Linked DNA regions of Homo sapiens: region 1 is linked to region 2. The links are contacts of gene promoters, found by promoter capture Hi-C in blood cells and fetal thymus (Javierre and others, 2016). All regions are on one chromosome and are shown on one strand. The core of a region is centred on a gene start or on the middle of the fragment in contact, and the rest is flanking DNA. Distances in the headings are between cores, read along the strand shown.

Region 1 (4,100 bases), core at 1,148-3,647, 1.1 Mb before region 2:
GATAATTTTGTATTTTTAGTAAAGATGGGGTTTCTCCATGTTGGTCAGGCTGGTCTCAAACCCCTGACCTCAGGTGATCCGCCTGCCTCAGCTTCCCAAAGTACTGGGATTACAGGTGTGAGCCACCACGCCCTGGCCTATTTTTTTTGTTTTTTGAGATGGAGTCTTGGTCTGTTGCCCAGGCTGGAGTGCAGTGGTGTGACCTCCATGCACTGCAACCTCCACCTCCTGGGTTCAAGCGATTCTCCTGTCTCAGCTTCCTGAGTAGCTGGGAGTACAGGCACCCACCACCATGGCCAGGTAATTTTTGTATTTTTAGTAGAGACAGGGTTTTGCCATGCTGGCAAGATCTGTCGAACCCGGGAGGTGCAGGTTGCAGTGAGCCAAGATCGCACCACTGCACTCCAGCCTGAGTGACACAGTGAGACTCATCGCAAAAAAAAAAAAAAAAAAAAGATGGATAAACAGTGCCTTCAAATGTGGTAACAGTGAGGACAGGAGTGGTGGCTCACGCCTGTAATCCCAGCACTTTGGGAGGCTGAGGTGGGTGGATCACCTGAAGTCAGGAGATCGAGACCAGCCTGGCCAACATGGTGAAACCCCATCTTTACTGAAAATATAAAAATTAGCAGGGGCTGGGCGCCGTGGCTTATGCCTGTGATCCCAGCACTTTGGGAGGCTGAGGCAGGTGGATCACAAGGTCAGGAGTTCAAGACTAGCCTGGCCAACATAGTGAAACCCCGTCTCTACTAAAAATACAAAAAATTAGCCAGGCGTGGTGGCAGGCACCTATAATCCCAGCTACTCAGGAGGCTGAGGCAGGAGAATTGCTTGAACCTGGGAGGTGGAAGTTGTGGTGAGCCAAGATCACGCCATTGCACTCCAGTCTGGGCAAGAAGAGTGAAACTGTGTCAAAACAAACAAACAAACAAACAAACAAAAATTAGCCGGGTGTGGTGGTGGTTGCCTGTAATCCCAGGTACTTGGGAGGCTGAGGTGGGAGAATCACTTGAATCCAGGAGGTGGAGGTTGCAATGAGCCAATATTGTGTCACTGCACTCCAGCCTGGGCAACACAATGTGACTCCATCTAAAAAAAATAAATAAAATTACAAATACAAATATTAGCTGGGTGTGGTGGTGGGCACCTGTAATCCCAACTACTTGGGAGGCTGAGGCAAAATAATCTGCTGCATCCGGGAAGCAGAGGTTCCAGTGAGGCAAGATCGCACCATTGCACTCCAGCCTGGGTGACAGAGTGAGACTGAGTCTCAAAAAAAAAAAAAGTTTGACAAACAGTGCCTTCAAATGTGGTAACAGTGAGGATGGGAGCAATGGCTCATGCATGTAATACCAGCACTTTGGGAGGTGGGTTGATCACCTGAGGTCAGGAGTTCAAGACCAGCCTGGCCAACATGGTGAAAACCCGTCTCTACTAAAAATAAAAAAATTAGCTGGGTGTGGTGGTGGGCGCCTGTAATCTCAGCTACTGGGGAGGCTAAAGGCAGGAAAATCACTTGAATCAGGGAGGCAGAGGTTGCAGTGAGCTGAGACTGTACCATTGCCCTCCAGTCTGGGCAACAAGAGCGAAACTCTGTCTCAAAAAAAAAAAAGAAAAGAAAAGAAAAAAAATGGTTGTAACAGTGGTTTTACATCGTTAAAATGAATGTTTATTATTTCAATTAAGCTTCTCACCAAGAAGCTTAAGTACTTAAATTATTTACAATTTATCACCCAGTGAGTTTTCCTCTTGGCCCTAGCTGCCAGAAAACTTAAACTCAGCTGAGTGACTGATGGTAGTAAATACTGTACCTACTAACAGTGCTAATTTTCTGCCGCTTTTAAATTGACTATACTATTTTATATTTAATACCATAAACTTACATTATTTTGAGAATAGGCCTTAAATTCTTTTTGAGAAATAGGGAAGTTATGTAAAATAAACATGGGGTTAAGAATTAAATACAGCGAATAGAAATAAATATAATCTGGTGGCTCACACCTGTAATCCCAGCACTTTGGGAGGCTGAGGTGGGAGGATCACTTGAGCCTAGGCGTTCAAGGAGAGCCTGGGAATCATAGGGAGACCCTGTCTTTATGAGAAAAATACATAAATCCATAAATATTTAAAAATGTGTTTCCTGCCCTCCATTCGGCACTGCCTTAACACCAGATACCAATAACATCAACTTGCTAGAATGTTACTCACTACTTTGCTAACTCAGCCTCAGAGTTGACTTTATCACCTTCTCTTACTTGAGGAGGCTTTGAGTCCTGTGGAACCTGGACTGAAAGCCCTCGAGGGAGCTGTTACCACAGGAACCCTTCAGGTTTGCCACTATTAATCACCCATTTTCCTTTACATAAGGGACGAGGGAAAGAAGATGGCTTCAGCCATAAGTTGGTTCATCATCAATGAAAGTAATAGGCAAAACATCTGAATATGGAAAGTAGAATGACATTGCCATTTTGGAAATAGTTTCTCATAGTCAGGATTCACTGTTTTCTTTTTTTTTGAGACGGAGTCTCACTCTGTCACCCAGGCTGGAGTGCAGTGGCGCGATCTCAGCTCACTGCAATGTTGGCCTCCTGGTTCAAGTGATTCTCCTGCCTCAGCCTCCTGAGTAGATGGGATTACAGCCATGTGCCACCCCCTACTAATTTTCTGTATTTTTTGTAGAGACAGGGTTTCACCATGTTGCCCAGGCTGGCCTTGAACTCCTGACCTGAGGTAATCCACTTGCCTTGGCCTCCCAAAGTGCGGGGATTACAGGCATGAGCCACTGCGCTTGGCCATGGATTCACTGTTTTATCTAGAGGACTTTGAAAATTCTCAGGGTAGGGGAAAGCAAGTTTTAGATAAAGATATATTAAATTCAAACAAATCTACTGGTAGAGTGACAGCCAGTTGTTGTAACCACGGTGTTATATAGTTTCAAAATTATAATCAAACAGTTTAGTTCCATTAAGAACATAATTTTATCTACATACCTTCAGTTCATTCATGGAATTGTGTTCTTCAAAATGTTTCTTTTTTCTCTCAATATATTGATCAATGGACTCCATTTCCTTAAAATGAGCTTCATGAAGCTTCTTAAAGTCTAGAATGTTCCAATATAAAAATTAATAACAAAACAAAATCCATTTATTTATCTTCTCTGTGTTTTTCTGTTAACACTTATTCTCTTCTTTGCATCCCTGACATTCAACTTCAATATAATTTTTGCTAAAACATTAATTTCAAAATACTTAGTTTTTGGAAACTCAGGGGCAAAGCACATTCATCTTATAAACTATCAAACATTCACCATCTCCCCACTGACAAATTTCACTAAATTGACATCTTGGTTTAATCCAGAGGATTAGAGTAGAAGATTTATCTTCTCCCCTACCAATTAGTCACAAGTGGTCTTTATTTAATAATGAATTTGATATTTTATAATGCTGTATGTCAAGGACTGACAAATTTATTCTATAAAGGGCTAGATAAAAGTATTTAAGACTTGGCTGGTCATGGTGGCTCAACACCTGTAATCTCAGCACTTTGGGAAGCCAAAGCGGTCAGATCACCTGAGGTCAGGAGTTCGAGACCAGCCTGACCAACATGGAGAAACCCCATCTCTACTAAAAATACAAAAATTAGCCAGGTGTGGTGGCGCACGCCTGTAATCCCAGCTACTCGGGACACTGAGGCAGGAGAATCGCTTGAACCCGGGAGGTGGAGGTTGCAGTGAGCCTAGATTGCGCCATTGCACTCCAGCCTGGGCAACAAGAGCAAAACTTCGTCTCAAAAAAAAAAAGTATTTTAGGCTTTATGGCCACATATGGTATGGTCTCTGTCTCATATTCTTCTTGTTTTTATGTTATTTATTTATTTATTTTGAGACGGAGTCTTGCTCTATTGCCCAGGCTACAGTGCAATGGCATGATCTTGGCTCACTGCAACCTCTGCCTCACAGGTTCAAGCGATTTTCCTGCCTCAGCTTCCCAAGTAGCTGGGGTTAAAGGCACCTGCCGCCACACCTGGCTAATGTTTGTATTTTCAGTAGAGATGGGGTTTCACCATGCTGGCCAGGCTGTTCTCAAACTCCCAACTTCAGG
Region 2 (4,282 bases), core at 1,208-3,707:
AAGAGAAAAGTACAATTCAATTATTCAAAGATGAAAATAGAGAAGGGGCATTAAATCTTCAACACTCATTTTTTTTTTTAACCAAAGAATATAACAATAGGTGACAGGCTGGGAACTTATTTGCTAAGATAAGCTAAAGTGGAACGTAGATACTTAGTTTTTTTTGAGACGGAGTCTCACTCTGTTGCCCTGGGTGGAGTGCAGTGGCGCGATCTCAGCTCACTGCAACCTCTGCCTCCCAGGTTCAAGTGATTCCCGTGCCTCAGCTTCCCAAGTAGCTAGGATTACAGGCATGTGCCACCACACCCAGCTAATTTTCTTGTATTTTGAGTAGAGACAAGGTTTCGCCATGTTGCCCAGGCTGCTCTCAAACTCCTGACCTCAGGTAATCTGCCTCGGCCTCCCAAAGTGCTGTGATTACAGGTGTGAGCCACCATGCCCGGCTGACTTAGTAAGTTTTATGAGCAGGCTTGAGGGAGTACTAAGGTTCTGAGACCAAGCAGTGCTTATTAAGAGACCACTTACTTCTTCTCCAGGAGAGTCAGTTATCTGGTTTGGTTCTATCCACTTATTAAATAAAAAATAGCCTAAAATTAGCATATAGTTTAGAAATGTAAGTCTTTTCAAAGGATGCTTATTAACTTTTGGTAATAATTGCTATTAAAAAGGAATTTAGGCCAGACACGGTGGCTCACACCTGTAATCCTAGCACTTTGGGAGGCCGAGGCGGGCGGATCACAAGGTCAGGAGTTCGAGATCAGCCTGGCCAACGTAGTGAAACCGCATCTCTACTAAAAATACAAAAATGAGCCAGGCATGGTGGCGCACGCCTGTAATCCCAGCTACTCAGGAGGCTGAAGCAGGAGAATCACTTGAACCTGGGAGGCAGAGGTTGCAGTGAGCCGAGATCATGCCACTGCACTCCAGCCTGGGCAACAGAGCGAGACTCCGTCTCAAAAAATAAATAAATAAAGAAAAAGGAATTTAAGGCTAACACCAATTAGTTAGAAAATTATTCTCATGAAATGCTTCTTTTCACATATCTAAACAGGGAAGCTTCCATACTATAGCTGTAGTCTGGAAGATACAGCTAGATTCAGAATGATGTCCTGAAGTCTGAATAGTTTTGAATCTTATTTTTAGTAAGCAGTTCCTTTTTCCTGCACTAGCTGCTCTGCTGATACTCTAATGAAAACTGGCTGAAACTACTGGAACCATGGCATTTGGATTAAAAAACTAAGGCTGCCAAAGCAGAGATAGCACCCAAGAGAAACAGAAAATTATTGGGACAGGCAGAGACCCTGACATTCATCAATACTTACTCAGAAATATTTTGGCTAAGTTTCCAGAAGGACCCATCCCAGAAGACCTGTAGGTGTTCCTTGAACAATAGTAAATGTGCTAAATCTGCTATACCAAACAGGTCTACCTGAAATCACAAAAAGCACCATCAGCTAAAATAATTCTCTGCCTCTACCATGGCAGCTTATTTCGGTAGGAAGTTGAAAGGTATTACAGTGCTTAACTAAGTTTATTTTATGACATACATTTTAGTAGACTGTTCCTCACCCTTACAGTAAAGGGAGAAGCTCTCCAAAGAAGTGATCAATAGAGCCAATTCTAGGAATTATCCTTAAGAACAAAAGATGAAATATTTGGACTATCACATTCAAATTTGTAGACCTACTGAGTTTGCATGAACTCCAGCTGTGATCTAAATGGGGTCCACATGATTAGTTCAGGTTTGTGCTACATATTCAATCAGCAAATGTCTTATGTCTAAAGCTGAGTTAGAAGGAATTTCTGCATATAATGCCACCATACAAAAGACTTTACATTTGTGCTAATGTTCTTTTTATATACATTACTTCATTTACTCCTCATAACAATTCTGATAAACACATAGCAGAGACTGTTATCCCTATTTTACAGAGAAGATCACAGAAAATGACTTATAAAAGATTACATGGGTGGTAGGCAGTAGGAGTGGCCCTGGCACTCGGTTACAGAGTTAGTCATGTGTTTGCACATGTATGTGTATATTCTTCAATGCTGTAACACAAAAATGTTACATTTTACTTGACTTGGTGATATTTGAAAACTAGGTCATCTATTCTAGGAGTCGGTATCAGTAAACAGTAGCTTTTATAGCTTATCTAGATAATAAAGAGATTAAGAAACCCTCTCCATATTTGCTCAGGCTTGTTTTACACTTACCTGGTAGGGAGAAGAACAGTTAGCCAGGATCTTTTGTCCTTCCAGGATCTGTACAGTCCGAAAGCCGCTGAGGGTAAAAACATCCAGCTGCACCCTAAGGTCAACACTGTAGGAAAAGTCCACTATCTTCAAAGCTTGATTGTTCTTGTTACAATCATAGGGATCGTGGATTCTGAGCCCAGATTTAAGAGAAGGAGATAATAAAAATAGGCCATGAAAGAAGCTGCATAGCTGGTCTTTAAAAAAAAAAGGTACCTTGGGTACATCTTAGCTATGCCAACAACTCCCTCCAGTGGTTAATTTTGAAAATGCACCTGTAAGACAGAGCAGTGGCAGTGTCCACCCAATGCGGAAGGAATGTCACCACTTTGGTGACACAAAGTATATTTCAATCACGGTGCATGGCCACCATTAAACATTTATCAAGCTTCCATATTATATAAAGTAAGTATGGAAGCAGAGCACAGGCTTCTTCCCTGTACTGTACACATTAACACATACAATTGCAATGATTTATACACTGACAGGAATTATGATGGAGGAAATTAAAATTTTATAGGTGTCATAGCCTTTCTTGTTTACTATTCCAGATAGGCTTTCCAAGTATTGTTTAGATTCTTCCTTCCAGAGTTTAATGGAAAACAATGCAAGTCTGTTTTATAAAGTCCTATCTGTATTGTAAAATTTCTTGTAAAACACCATATTTTATCTTACTCTTACTTGTAATTCCAGTTATTTACTAAAAAAATCTTTATAATACTAATTAATTATCAATTAATTTTGTTTTCCTTGGGTTTATCTATCCTATGCAATAATGCTATTCTCCAAGGGGACATAGGAACTGTTTATAAATGAAAAGAGTGGGTTTTCATGTGTTCCTTTTGTCTGTTTTTCTCAATTAATTCCCTCAAACTCCTGATATTGGTGCAATATTCCTAAATACAGTCTTTAACTACTCCAATTACATACCTCCACGGCACAGAATGATCTATGTATTTTACTTTAAAATTGATAATTGCTCTCATTTTTCCTTGGCACAAGAGCCAACCTTTTTTGGCCACCATAAAACTATACTATAATTAAAAAAAAAAAAAAATATATATATATATATATATATATAGTATATATATAGTTATAGGGATCGTGGATTCTGATATATATAAAATATACATATGTATTTTATATATATATGTAAAGTGTGTGCATGTGTGTGTTTTGTTTGGTTTCTTAGACAAGGTCTACACTCTTGTCACTGAGGCTGGAGTACAGTGGTGCGATCTCAGCTCAGTGCAGTCTCTGCCTCCTAGGTTCAAGCGATCCTCCCATCTCAGCCTCCCGAGTAGCTGGGACTACTGGTGTGTGCCACCATGCCTGGCTAATTTCTTAATTTTTTGTAGAGATGAGGTCTCATTATATTGCCCAGACTGGTCTTGAACTCCTAGGCTCAAGTGATCCTCTGCCTTGGTCTCCCAAAGTGCTGGGATTACAGATGTGAGTCACCATGCCCAGTGTAATTGTAAAATATTTATATAACTTTGGAGGCATAGGGAAAAAATGTCTCATAGATTAATAAAAAGAAGCATGCATGAAGGTGTCCTAGCCCTCTAATCAGCTACTCACTCACTGTTACTTTGGGTAGGACATTCCATTTTTTTGGATCTCATTTTCCTCACAAAAAATATGCAGAAACTAAAGTAAGCAACTAAACTAAGCAATTTCAAAAGGTTCTTTCTGGCTTTTATTTTATTTTTGTAGAGACAGGGTCTTGCTATGTTGACCAGGCTGGTCTTGAACTCCTGGCCTCAAGAGATCCTCCTGCCTCTGCCTCCCAAAGTGCTGGGATTGCAGATGTGAACCACTGCATCCAGCCCTTTCTGGCTTTTGTTGTTGTTTTGTTTTGAGATGGAGTCTCGCTCTGTCACCCAGGCTGGAGTGCAGTGGCATGATCTTGGCTCACTGCAAGCTCTGCCTCCCGGGTTCACGCCATTCTCCTGCCTCAGCCTCCTGAGTAGCTGGGACTACAGGCACCTGCCACCACGGCTGGCTATCTTGTTGTATTTTTAGT

Evidence for each region. Contacts are between HindIII fragments. The CHiCAGO score rates a contact against its expected background, and 5 or more counts as called.
Region 1: a fragment that was not itself captured here is called in contact with the fragment with the promoter of BUB1B-PAK6 in region 2 in 1 of 17 cell types (erythroblasts); the score reaches 6.1 in erythroblasts.

The regions. Positions count from the first base shown.
Region 1 is chr15:41,357,149-41,361,248 of GRCh38, reverse strand. NUSAP1 (nucleolar and spindle associated protein 1) reads right to left here. Exons shown (of 11, transcript NM_016359.5): 6 at 2,991-3,100. Among named protein-coding and RNA genes, the nearest start is that of NUSAP1, 26 kb to the right of the region's middle. The HindIII fragment of the contact is 1,388 bases long and covers 1,704-3,091 here.
Region 2 is chr15:40,215,603-40,219,884 of GRCh38, reverse strand. BUB1B-PAK6 (BUB1B-PAK6 readthrough) reads right to left here and starts at 2,457. Exons shown (of 10, transcript NM_001128629.3): 1 at 2,218-2,457. BUB1B (BUB1 mitotic checkpoint serine/threonine kinase B) reads right to left here. Exons shown (of 23, transcript NM_001211.6): 21 at 2,218-2,389; 22 at 1,323-1,429. All of the region lies in intron 1 of LOC107984763 (a long non-coding RNA gene), which reads left to right. The HindIII fragment of the contact is 293 bases long and covers 2,354-2,646 here.